Regions from separate parts of the Homo sapiens genome. Here region 1 is linked to region 2. The links are contacts of gene promoters, found by promoter capture Hi-C in blood cells and fetal thymus (Javierre and others, 2016). All regions are on one chromosome and are shown on one strand. The core of a region is centred on a gene start or on the middle of the fragment in contact, and the rest is flanking DNA. Distances in the headings are between cores, read along the strand shown. Region 1 overlaps ZNF451 (zinc finger protein 451). Region 2 holds the start of ZNF451 (zinc finger protein 451).

Evidence for each region. The method cuts DNA at HindIII sites, captures the fragments that hold promoters and counts their contacts. A CHiCAGO score of 5 or more calls a contact.
Region 1: a fragment that was not itself captured here is called in contact with the fragment with the promoter of ZNF451 in region 2 in 10 of 17 cell types (naive CD4 T cells, naive CD8 T cells, total B cells and 7 more); the score reaches 10.0 in naive CD4 T cells.

Annotation. Positions count from the first base shown.
Region 1 is chr6:57,154,466-57,160,018 of GRCh38, reverse strand. All of the region lies in intron 13 of ZNF451 (zinc finger protein 451), which reads right to left. The region is part of intron 2 of ZNF451-AS1 (ZNF451 regulatory antisense RNA 1); the gene reads left to right. Among named protein-coding and RNA genes, the nearest start is that of ZNF451-AS1, 15 kb to the left of the region's middle. The HindIII fragment of the contact is 4,561 bases long and covers 593-5,153 here.
Region 2 is chr6:57,087,234-57,093,308 of GRCh38, reverse strand. It overlaps ZNF451 (zinc finger protein 451), which reads right to left and starts at 3,121. Exons shown (of 15, transcript NM_001031623.3): 1 at 3,035-3,121; 2 at 2,415-2,498. The coding sequence starts at 3,055. RefSeq lists a silencer at 3,063-3,132 and enhancers at 2,553-3,435, 3,303-3,452. The HindIII fragment of the contact is 8,135 bases long and covers 1-6,075 here.

The DNA.
Region 1 (5,553 bases), core at 1,624-4,123, 67 kb before region 2:
CTACATTTAAATCAATATATATTTATATCAAGACATAATTATACAAATATAAACAGATATGCATCTATATATGATATATATGTCAGTGACTTGAATCAGCACCTAACTAAATACAAATCATATAGACATATTTGTTTCTGTGCAAACTTAAAAACTTAAAATATACATTAAAAAGCCCTTTAGGGGTCTATAAATAAAAATTAAATCACTATATTTCACTATATTCTTTTGCTGCAGAAATTTGTTTTTACAAGTCATCTTTGCTATTAATTCCAGCAAAATACTTCAAATATTTCAAGCAGTGTTTTAGGTAAATAAAACATTACATTTACAAATTAAAGAACAAAATTAAACCTCTAAACCAGGGGTGTCCAATCTTTGGCTCGCCTGGGCCACATTGGAAGAAGACTGTCTTGGGCCACACATAAAATACACTAACGCTAATGATAGCCCATGAGCAAAATAAGAAAACGCAAAAAAAAAAAAAAAAAAACTCTTATAATGTTTTAAGAAAGTTTACAAATTTGTGTTGGGCTACATTCAAAGCTGAACTGGGCCACATGTGGCCCGTGGGCCACAGGTTAGACAAGCTTGCTCTAAACATTAAGAACAAAAGGAAAATACCCACAGCTTTCTGTTATTACAATTTAAAGTCAAGATCAGTCAAAAGCAGCATGTTATAACTCATCCAAACAATTCATCATTGCATGCAAGGCCTAAGGCTACACTACAGGTTTGAATAATGACAAATCCTTGATTTGTCAAGGATTAACTTGACATGGGGTTGCAAATATTAATATCATAAAAGGTTTCTTTTGCCTCCATCAACCCCATCAGAAGAACAGAGAAAATCGTAAATATTCTTTCTTATTTTCAGTACCTTTGCATGGAATTAATTTTATCAACATATTTTTATAATGGTGCCCAAAGAAACAACCTATAGTTTTCATTAACAGGCTGAGGAAACAACAGGCAGACAGACTTTAAGAAATAAGTTCAACAATTATTTTAGGTAATGCCTAGTCCACAGGCCATGATGCTGCTTCAATCATCTACACTTCCATAGCACCTAGGTGAATGTTTATGCTCTATATGTAAGATGGATTTAAAAATCTGTGTAATTGGTATGACTCATAGATGCCAACCCTACTTACTGCTTCTAACCCACTCATCCACAATGAAGCCACAACTAAATGGATATGACAGTCTCAGGCTTATAAACAAGACCATCTAAGGAGCATACAGATTCAACAAAAATTATCTTGTAGTAACATCTTTTTCATTACATGTAATTCTCAAGGGAGCAGATACTGGCCCAAATAAGAAAACACTGAAAATACTAACTTCTGTGTGCCCTGGAACATTTATATCGATTAAGTGAAAGGTAGAGGAAGCAATGGGAGGCAGGTTTCTAGTGAATTTCTTTGAAACCACATGTTGCAGTACTCCAATAAGCTCACTGCAGTGCTTGTAGTTCTAGTGCCAACATCTCGAGGAGCCTGTAAAGATGGTGTTTATTCATTTAATTATGAGACAAAAGATCCTAAAGAAATTAGAATGCTAATTGCTTTCCTTGGCTATATTCAGCATATAATCACTTTACTTTTTAAAGCACCAGAACTCACAACCAAATCATTTCTTCTGACAAAAAAAAAAAAGCGCATTCTTCCTGAATGTTATTTAAAAATAAAAAACTTGTTTGATATCTTTATATAAACTCTGCAATGTCCCTATACTGTGGCAGAATATTTCCCATTATCTTCATTCTTCAAGGACATGGTTAAAGCCAGTAATTCACACTGGGTGGCTAGCTCTACATCATGGAATCAGGTATTTGTGTCAGTGAAAGTCTCAACCACAGTCGTTGATACTAATGAAAAGCAAAGCACTTGCTCTGTGACTGCAGGTAGATTATTTAACCTTTCTGAACCTGTGCTTCCTTCCACACTTATAAAATGGGGTAATCCAACACCTACTTCGTAGCTTGCAAAGGGGATTAAAAAGCATATGGAAGAAGTTCTTTCAACATATTTAAACATCTGTAAACACTACAAACATAAAAAGCAGTTAACATGGTGGCTGGCACATAGTAGTCTTCAATAAACTACAATAAACTTCAATAAACTTTTTTCAATTAAAAAGTTCACCTTTTTTTTCTTTCAACATTTAAGTGACAAGTTATATCTGCATCTCTGAAACATGAGGCTTGAGTTAGAATAATGAAGTATTTGGGAATAAAATATAAATGGTCTAAGAAAGTCTACCTGGCTTCTCTGATTGGGATTACCAGAAAGGATCCATGTATCTTAAGTGTTAAGAAAGTGAGGATAAGTACAATATAAAATAGAAATGATGAAGGATAAGAAGACCAAGGTGGGGGCAGAAATTAAAGTTAATAGACTTTTTAAATGTCTCTACAAGAATTTATACATATATCATAGCGTAATTAAAATGCTCATGTTGAAACCCTGATGCTTACAAGTAGAGAAAAGAACTTTTACCCTAACTAACCAAGTCAGAGACCTAAAAATGTACCAGTAATAAAGCTACTTAACCTTTCCCCTCCCCACCATGCTAAAACAATGCCTTAGGAACAAATGACTGGACACCGATATACAGAACCAGGAACTCCAAATATCTGTATTTTTACTGAAATAAGTACCTCTGGAAAGACTTTCAATTAACAGAGAAATTAGCAAAGACTAATTTCTCCTAGTATGATACCATATGATCGATTCTGATAACAATATTCAAAAGATCCTTCCTATTTATACAGCAATCTTTAGTCTAATAAAAACCACTTTTTAGTCCTGCTGATGGTAAATTTCTGAAAACTTATAAAGAATAAGAGACTCAAACTTGTATCAACTTCTCTATGCTCTGGTGAAAAATTCAAAAATCTGAAAAATCACTAGCCTGGCTATATAATAACAAATATGAAAGAACTTATCACTGTATGTTACTTATAGCAGGAGTCCCCAACCCCAGGGCCATGGACCAGTACCAGTCTGTGGCCTGTTAAGAACTGGGCCGCACAGCAGGAGGTGAGCAGCAGGTGAGCCAGCATTACCACCTAAGCTCCTCCTCCTGTCAGATCAGCAGCGGCATTAGATTCTCATAGGAGCACAAACCCTATTGTGAACTGCACGTACAAGGGATCTAGGTTGTACGCTCCTTATGAGAATCTAATGCCCCACCTCCTGCCCCCAATCCATGGAAAAATTGTCTTCCATGAAACCAGTCCCTGGTGCCAAAATGGTTGGGGACTGTTGACTTATAGTATAAACTTAGGTTACATCCCAAAGGACAATTTTGTTTGTTGATTGGCATCTAGAAGCGTTGAGACCACAAATCCCTTGAAATTGTATGCAATGTAGTACATACATGTTTATTTTGGGGGATGGAGGGTATAGAAAGTTTTCATCAGATTCTCAAAAAGGTCCAGTGACCCCTTCACCCCAAAAACCACATTGCCTTAAGAAACTGACTGGCTGTCAAATCTGAAAACAAGAAGGAACACCATGTTTAGCTATGTGCAAGGAGTTATCTGGCATTCTTTAGTAACAAAAATTATATTATTAATGGACATTGAGAGATTTATTGAGTCCCATTATACATTAAATACCATTCCTTAATAGAAACTATTACTCAACTATTCACAAAGCTATTTGTTAGGAAAGGAAATGGAATAAAAGTTATCCAAGAAAATGATTTTTCTTTGATTCCTTATAAAGTTCACTACAGGAAATTTGATGGTTTTAAGTCTTCCATGAAGAAAAAATTTGGTCTTAAATCAGATAACTAAGCCTGAACATACTATGATTCAGTGTAACATTAAAAATGTAGTGGCTAGGAATCACATTTTCTTTTTATGGTAGTAATAATAAAAAATAGCTATTATTTGTTAAATAGCTAAAGTGCTTTATATACTGTGCTAGACACTTTACATACATCACTAACTATTACAACCATATAAATACAAAAAAATGAGGCTCCAAAAAAGTTAAGTAACATGCCTGAAATCGCGCTGCTAGGAAACAGCAAAGTTAGCATTTGAACCAAAGCCCATATCCTTCTTCATGCAGTGCACAATCTCTGTATGTCACAAAAACTAAGAATAAAGTACACATGTGCCTCCAGAGAGTAGTTAGTTCAAATGAGTACTGAGTATGAGTGATTAAAAAAAAAAAAAAAAAAAAAGAATACCTAGAACATAAGAGTCATTTGGAAGGGCATAATCAGCAGATATTAATAACCTGTATCTTACCTCCAACTGTAATATACCCATGCAAGTCTACTCGTATTCACCTCTCATTCCAAACAGAATATGGTTTTGCCTCTGCAAAACCATAACAGGTTTCACATTTGGAGTTATAAAAGAAATGTTCCCAAAAGCAGAAGCATAAGAGAAGGAAAGGGAGGTTGGCCTTGTGCGGCAAAGGTAAAACTTTATCTTATAGGATATTAAGTAGATGTTGAGAACTGGGAAAGCGATGGCAAAAGAGTAGAAGAGGTGTTTTGCTTTTTGTTTGAGACGAAGTTTTTGGTCTTATTGCCCAGGCTGGAGCGCAATGGTGCAATCTCAGCTCACTGCAACCTCCGCCTCCTGGGTTCAAGCGATTCTCCTGCCTCAGCCTCCCGAGTAGCTGGGATTACAGGCAACCGCCACCATGCCCAGCTAATTTTTGTATATTTAGTAGAGATGGGTTTTCACCATGTTGACCAGGCTGGTCTTGAACTTCTGACCTCAGGTGATCCACCCACCTCAGCCTCCCAAAGTGCTGGGATTACAGGTGTGAGCCACTGCACCCAGCCTGTTTTTTTTGTTTTTTTGTTTTTTGTTTTAAGAAAAAAGAAAGCCACAGATAGAAAAACAAGTGAAAACAAAAATTACAGAATAGGAAGATAATACTCAGAACTAAGGCATGACATAAAGACACAAGAGTTCATTTTCTTTTATAATCTTCCATCATTACTCCACTTTAAAGAGTATAAAGAGCACAGATTACTGATTCCTAACTTTGCAGAAGTGAATTGATCCACTGTAATCAGTGATTACAGCAAAATTCTCCAGAATGAGTTTTCAATCAAAATGTGCTTCCAAATATATTGAAAGAAAAAAAAAATCTAGGAGGCAAGCAGACTTGAAAGCTTTAAAGGCACACAATAAAAATGCCAAAAAGCCACTATTTTTCATTAAGGTAATTCATTAATATCTTCAAACCTTATTCATGAATTTAAATTATTAGGATATTTAAACATTAATTATTCTATCCATATTTCTTTACTTCAGAGATTATGAAAAAGGGGGTTATAACTCAGTGGTAGAGCATTTGACTGCAGAAATTATGAAAAACGAAAAACAAAACTTCTGAATCCTTAGAATTACATCTTTTCTTATATACTAGGAAGTGAAATTGGGTATCAGCACTCCTTTCATTGAACAATCTCACAAAGGTACAGAAGAAAGTGCAAGTCCCAGCAATAAGATAGGATGTACCCACTTCTCTAAGGACCTAAAAGCCTATCAGCGTTTTATTTTGTCACTGTCAA
Region 2 (6,075 bases), core at 1,872-4,371:
TTCCAATGATGCTACACTATATCAATAATCTTGGCTGAAACCTGAATCTCTTGTATTGTTTTGTTAGCAAAATTACGATAGGTTCCCTCAGCAGTTTGTATACCTTCATATCTAGAACAGCACTGTGAACTATCACATCATCAGCTATTAGTTTTTTAGAAGTAAATCACATAAAAAATCTGCAATTTCAAAGAAAGATATAAAAACAGTAGTTGAATAAAGGATCATATTACTAAACAGAAATAAGAACAACAGACCTAAATAAGAAGTTTTTGTTATGGCAGCATTCTGTTTCTTGATTTAGGCGCTGTTTACATAGATGTATGAGGCTTTGCAAAACTTTATCCAACAAGTATACTTATGAATTGTGCACTTTTATGTATATTTCAATAAAATTTAAATGAGAGGGCCCATTTTTGCACCCCCCTCCATATCTATATCACTCCTTTCCTTCAGCATGCTGTGTTTAGTTTCAGATTCTGTATTCTACAAATCACAGAATAACTCCTGGGCCACCAAGTGGACTAAAAGTGGGAAAATTAGGTTAGTAAGAGCTATGAAATCCAAACCGTAAAAACGAAGAAGTAACATCACAATACTCATTTTTTATCTGAAAAAATCAAACTTTTTCATCTTTACTGAATAAGCATTACTGACTGGAGGAGCCACATATAGGATTGGATTCCAGAGAAAAGTAAAGATTCTGTCTCTGAATATATTTTGAAATATAATTAAGCTATTATTGTCATGTAAGTGGTGCCACTTAAATGTAAAGGGAAAATTTTTAATAGGCTTCTTCTAGTATTGTAATTACACTTACAACATATAATTCACTTCTCCATGTGGAACTGTCAAACCTCTGAACCTTTATTTGGGAACAAGAGTAAGAAGTTGTATCATGTCAGATATTCAATGATTGTACATTCTTTACTCTTGATGCAAAGACGGAAGTGATCCTCTACATTCAACATAAAATTTAAAGACTCCTTTAAACCAAAGGTGAACTCAAGCCTACATTAACTAGTCACAAGCTACACTGTAATTCATTACACAAAACATTTTTCAAATATTAAGAGATGCTACTCGTGTTTCTCAAAAAGGGCCATAGTTCATAAAGAAGTATGTCATTCCTAGTATTATTTCTACTAAACACCATAAGAAAAAAATTCTCTTCACAAATATACCAAGATTCAGGAAGAACCTGAAATATCTGTCCTCAAGAGCCATGGAAACCTGTTATTAAACATACTTCAGCGCATGGTGAAGGAAAGGACAGGATACAATTCACCCCCATCCTCTACTCCAAATCCGTAGAAGATCAAAATGAAAAGGAGAGAGTACAACATACACTGGTAAAGGGAAAGAAATTCAATAAAACAATCTTGTGAAGGACTCCTAAACAAATCTATTAAAATACCATACAAAAATGAATTACCAAAATGGCCCTAATGCTGGGAAAGAAACTGTTTAATAACCAATTTTACAAGGTTTCCCAGCATCCACCATAAATGCACATCTGACACTCAACGAAAAATTCTACAGCTTGAATACCAAACTGCAACTAACTACGGCATTCCAAAAGACGAGTTGGGGACAGAACCGTTTTCTGCCTGGCGAGCTGAGATACCACTTTACGCAAAGCCTTTCTAAAACTCCAATAATTATGGAAGAAAATCACCCCAAAATACATCATAAAACACTCTCTTCTGCTTTGGAAACCCATGCTGTACAAAGTGTGCTCAGAAATCCTTATGTCCCTGCACTTGTCTGAAAATGAAGATTCCTAGGCCCCCGCCTGGAAATTCTGATTCGGTAGGTCTGCAGTGGGGCCCAGGAATCTGCCTGTTTATACTTACTAAGGCTTGAAAACTACTGTCTCAAAGGGAACAAACTCAGAAAAATAGAGCATGTTCCCAGTGATGTAGGATTCTTCATTATGAGCATCAACTGTACTATGCCGTAACATGATGATCTCAGAGGTTAGAGAAATCTTCAAGCTATTTGCCTTCATGTTAGAAGCACCATAACGCTAAGATTCTGGGCTCTCACAACCCTTCCTGTTTTCTACGTCCTTGCTCATCATTAGCAGCTCCTTCCTCCGTGTCGCCTTTAGAAGTTACTCTTGCTCCATTTCAAAACAGCGTTTTAGACACCAGCGTTTTTATCTTAAGTTTAAATGAAAGGCAGGGGGCGAGATTAAGTGTACAGCACGTTCTTTAGGACGTGCTCTTTGTGATGGCTACGGGGGTGGCTCAGATAGCTCTTTTGGTAAATTTCCCAATCCTGCGCCATGCTCCAGTGTCTAGTATGTATTAGACACTCATGAACATTAAATGACCAGGTGAGGTAACATTACATAATGGCCCACCATAGTCTTTTACTCTGGGAAAACCCCAATCATCATTGCTACTTACACTGACAAACTGAATGTCGTCTTCATTTTCATCCGTTGTTGACTCAGATGCCTCAGGGCCAGCTGGAGGGACAGATTCTATTATCTATAAAAACAAGCCAAAACATGCTTATCTGTTCAGCCACATTCGTGTAGGAAGAGAGCGTTTCCGAAAGGAACAATTAAAGACAGAGAGCTCTTGAGGAAAACGAACTGAGCACAATTTCACGGAAACCCGACTAGGAACGGAACTCGAGCTCTGGCTCTTGCCACAGAGTGTGCGGAGCTGCAGGGACCCAACGCTGAAAACGCGTTAGTTACCAGCCTCTCACAATTCCCCTTATCTACTCCAGGAGGAACGCAAGCTCAACACCGAAGGGCAATCCTGCCTTAAAACGTCGCTCCCACTGGCCCAGCCGCGGCCACAACGAACGCCAGGGCCCGTGCGGGGGGCCGGGCGGCCATTGTTGCTGCGGGTTCCTCGCTCAGACACGCACCAGGCCCCAGAGCTGGGCTCGGCCCAAGACACTGAAGAGGTATCGCCCCGAGGCTGCGACGGAGCACCAGGCCTCAGACCGCAGAAAACACAAACCCTTCGCGGTTCGCCTCTGAGAACGCCAGGACCCTCACTCGACTACTCACCTCCGACCCCGGGTCTCCCATGTCTCCGACGGCCGCGCTGACAGCACCACTGCTCCTGCTGTCCCTGCCGCCGCCGTCGCCACGAATCCCCTTCCCGCCCTGCACCGCCTGGCGCTACCGGGACCCGCCCCTGCGTGAGCGCCGACGCCACCGGCGGAAAGAGACGCAAAACCTCTTCAAAGGAGGAGCGGCCCTTACTGGCCCGCTATGCCCCCGGAGCCGCTTTCTCTCACTCCCGGGCTTCCTTCCCCGCGCCGCGCAGGATGCTGGGAATTGTAGTTCGGGTCCGCCCCGAGACCGCCCCTCGCCGGAGAGGAAAAGAACCATGCGCCTAAAAGACGCCAGCTGCAGTGGGTGGGGCGAAGCCAGGGGCCAGCTGGGTCCTGTGAGATAGCGAAGCACTGGGAAGATGTGGGAGGATGTGAAGGAGGGTTTGAGTTGGTATTTGTTTGGTTTTGGTATGGTTGTGAAGCGCAGCTCATTGATTTTTCTGTTTTAGCCCTGAAGGTGGGTGGTGGGAACGGATTTCTCTTTTTTTCCTTTCATTTTTAAATTTATGTATTTACTCATTTTTGAGGACAGGGGCTATGTGGAGGTTTAGCTGAATCCTAGGATCAGGAAAGAATCTGAAGTATCCTTACATTACACACCTCTTCCCTAGCGTCAGTCTCCCAGGCCCTGCCAGTATTAATACACCTGAGGAAGAAAATAGGGATGGGAAATCCAGGGCCCAATAGGAAAGGGAACCGAGGTCTACCTAACTATCACTAAACCCTAGCCAGTGATTTTGAAATGCACTTTTTCAATATTCTCAGATATACTGAGAGAATATGAGAGATCTATTTATAGACTGCTGTAAGGTTGACCTTTTAACCTTTTGTGTGTTCACACTCATAAACCAGTCTATAAAATAGATCTTTTATATTCAACTATGCATTTAATCTGTTCTCAGGTAATACCTTACCAAAAATTTAAAAAGGTTTTTTAAAAAAACACACCAATCGTTGTCAATAAAGTTTATGAAAAGAATTAAGTGATAACATTATTTTAGGCCAGGCGGGTCCTCACACTCTGGGAGGCCGAGGCGGGCGGTTCACTTAAACCCAGGAATTCGAGACCAGCCTGAGCAATAAGAGGGAACCTCGTCTCTACAAAAAATACAAAAATTAGCTAGGCGTAGTGGTCCTTGCCTGTAGTCCCAGCTACTCAGGAGGTTTAGGTAGGAGAATCGCTTGAGGCCGAGAGATTGAGATCCAGGCTGCAGGGAGCCAAATTCATGCCACTGCACTGCAGCCTGGGTGACAGAGCAAGACACTGTCTCAAAAAAAAAAAAAAAAAAACACAAATTATTTAACATCTCAGATTCCTGTTTTTGTTTGTATGCAAAACTACCATCTGATTGCCTAAGCCTGTAGTAATTATTGTTTAATATTTGACATTTCCTGCATTTCCACCAAGTGCTTTATGACTTTAGTTACTTTCTACCTAGTAAGTTTGAGACTTGTGGAAGCCAATTGAGAATGACAGACGTGCATGGGGAGTTCTTCAAAAGCTGTGTGTAAATTAAATATTTTTAAAACGTTAATGTGTAGGCAAAACTTGTATTTAAAAGCTCTTCCTAGTGGGCTGGTGAAAGTGTCCTCTAATATTTAATCAGTTGAGGCAGGAGTTAATGGGTAAAATTCTTGGAAAACAAGCAGTATGTGGCTAGACCCAAAAACTTCTCACACCATACAACTCAGTAACTGTAGTTGCAGGGATTTTCCTGAAGATACATCACAGGTTTTTTTATAACAGCAAAAACTGGAAAATATCTAAATGTCTAATAATTGGGGAATGTAATGTTTAAATTTTGGTATGTATGCTATAAAGATAACATTACAGTGTTTTATCTCCACTGAAAATGTTTACCTAACATTTCTCAAAGCATATTTTTCAAAAATTCAAGAAATATATAGGATAATTAGAACCATGTTGTATTCGTTCTTGCACTGCTATAAAGAACTACCTGAAACTGCGTAATTTATAAAAGAAAGAGGTTTAATTGGCTCACAGTTCCACAGGCTGTACAGGAAGCATGGCTGGGGAGGCCTTGGGAAACTTAAAATTGTGGCAGAAGGTGAAGAGGAAGGAGGAACCTCTTTACATGGGCAGAGGAGGAAGAAAGCAAAGCAGGGAGGTGCTACACACTTTTTAACAACTAGATCTCGTGAGAACTCACTCATTATTAGAGAACAGCAAGGGGGAAATCCGCCCCCATGATCCAATCACCTCCCACCAGGCCCCTCCCCCAATATTGGGGATTACAATTCCACATGGAATTTGGGTGAGGACACAAATCCAAACCATATCACATGTCAAGCCATCAAGAAAAGCATCCCTGAAAGAGAAAACCTACTTAAACAGGAATAGTAATTTATTTTTTTTCTGGGCAGCTGGACTATGTGTTTACAAGAAAATCCAGGCTGGGGGTGGTGGTTCACACTTATAATCCCAGCACTTTGGGAGGCAGGAGGAATGCTTGAGCCCAGGGGTTCAAGACCAGCCTAGGTAACATAGTGAGACCCTGTCTCTGCAAAAAAATTTAAAATTAGCCAGGTGTGGTGGTACATGTGTGTGGTCCCAACTGCTCAGGAGGCTGGAGTGGGAGGATCACTTGAGCCCAAGAGGTCAAGGCTTCAGTGAACCTAATCTCACCACCGCACTACAACCTGGGTAACAAAGCAAGACCCTGTCTCAAAAAAAGAAAATAAAAAGAAAATCCTGGGCCGGGCGTGGTGGCTCATGCCTGTAATTGCAGCACTCTGGGAGGCCAAGGTGGGCGGATCACCATGTCAGGAGACTGAGACCATCCTGGCTAACACGGTGAAACCCCGTCTCTACTAAAAATACAAAGAATTAGCCGGGCGTGGTGGCGGGTGCCTGTAGTCCCAGCTACTTGGGAGGCTGAGGCAGGAGAATGGCATGAACCTGGGAGGCAGTTGAAGTGAGCTGAGACTGCGCCACTGCACTCCAACCTAGGCAACAGAGCGAGACTCTGT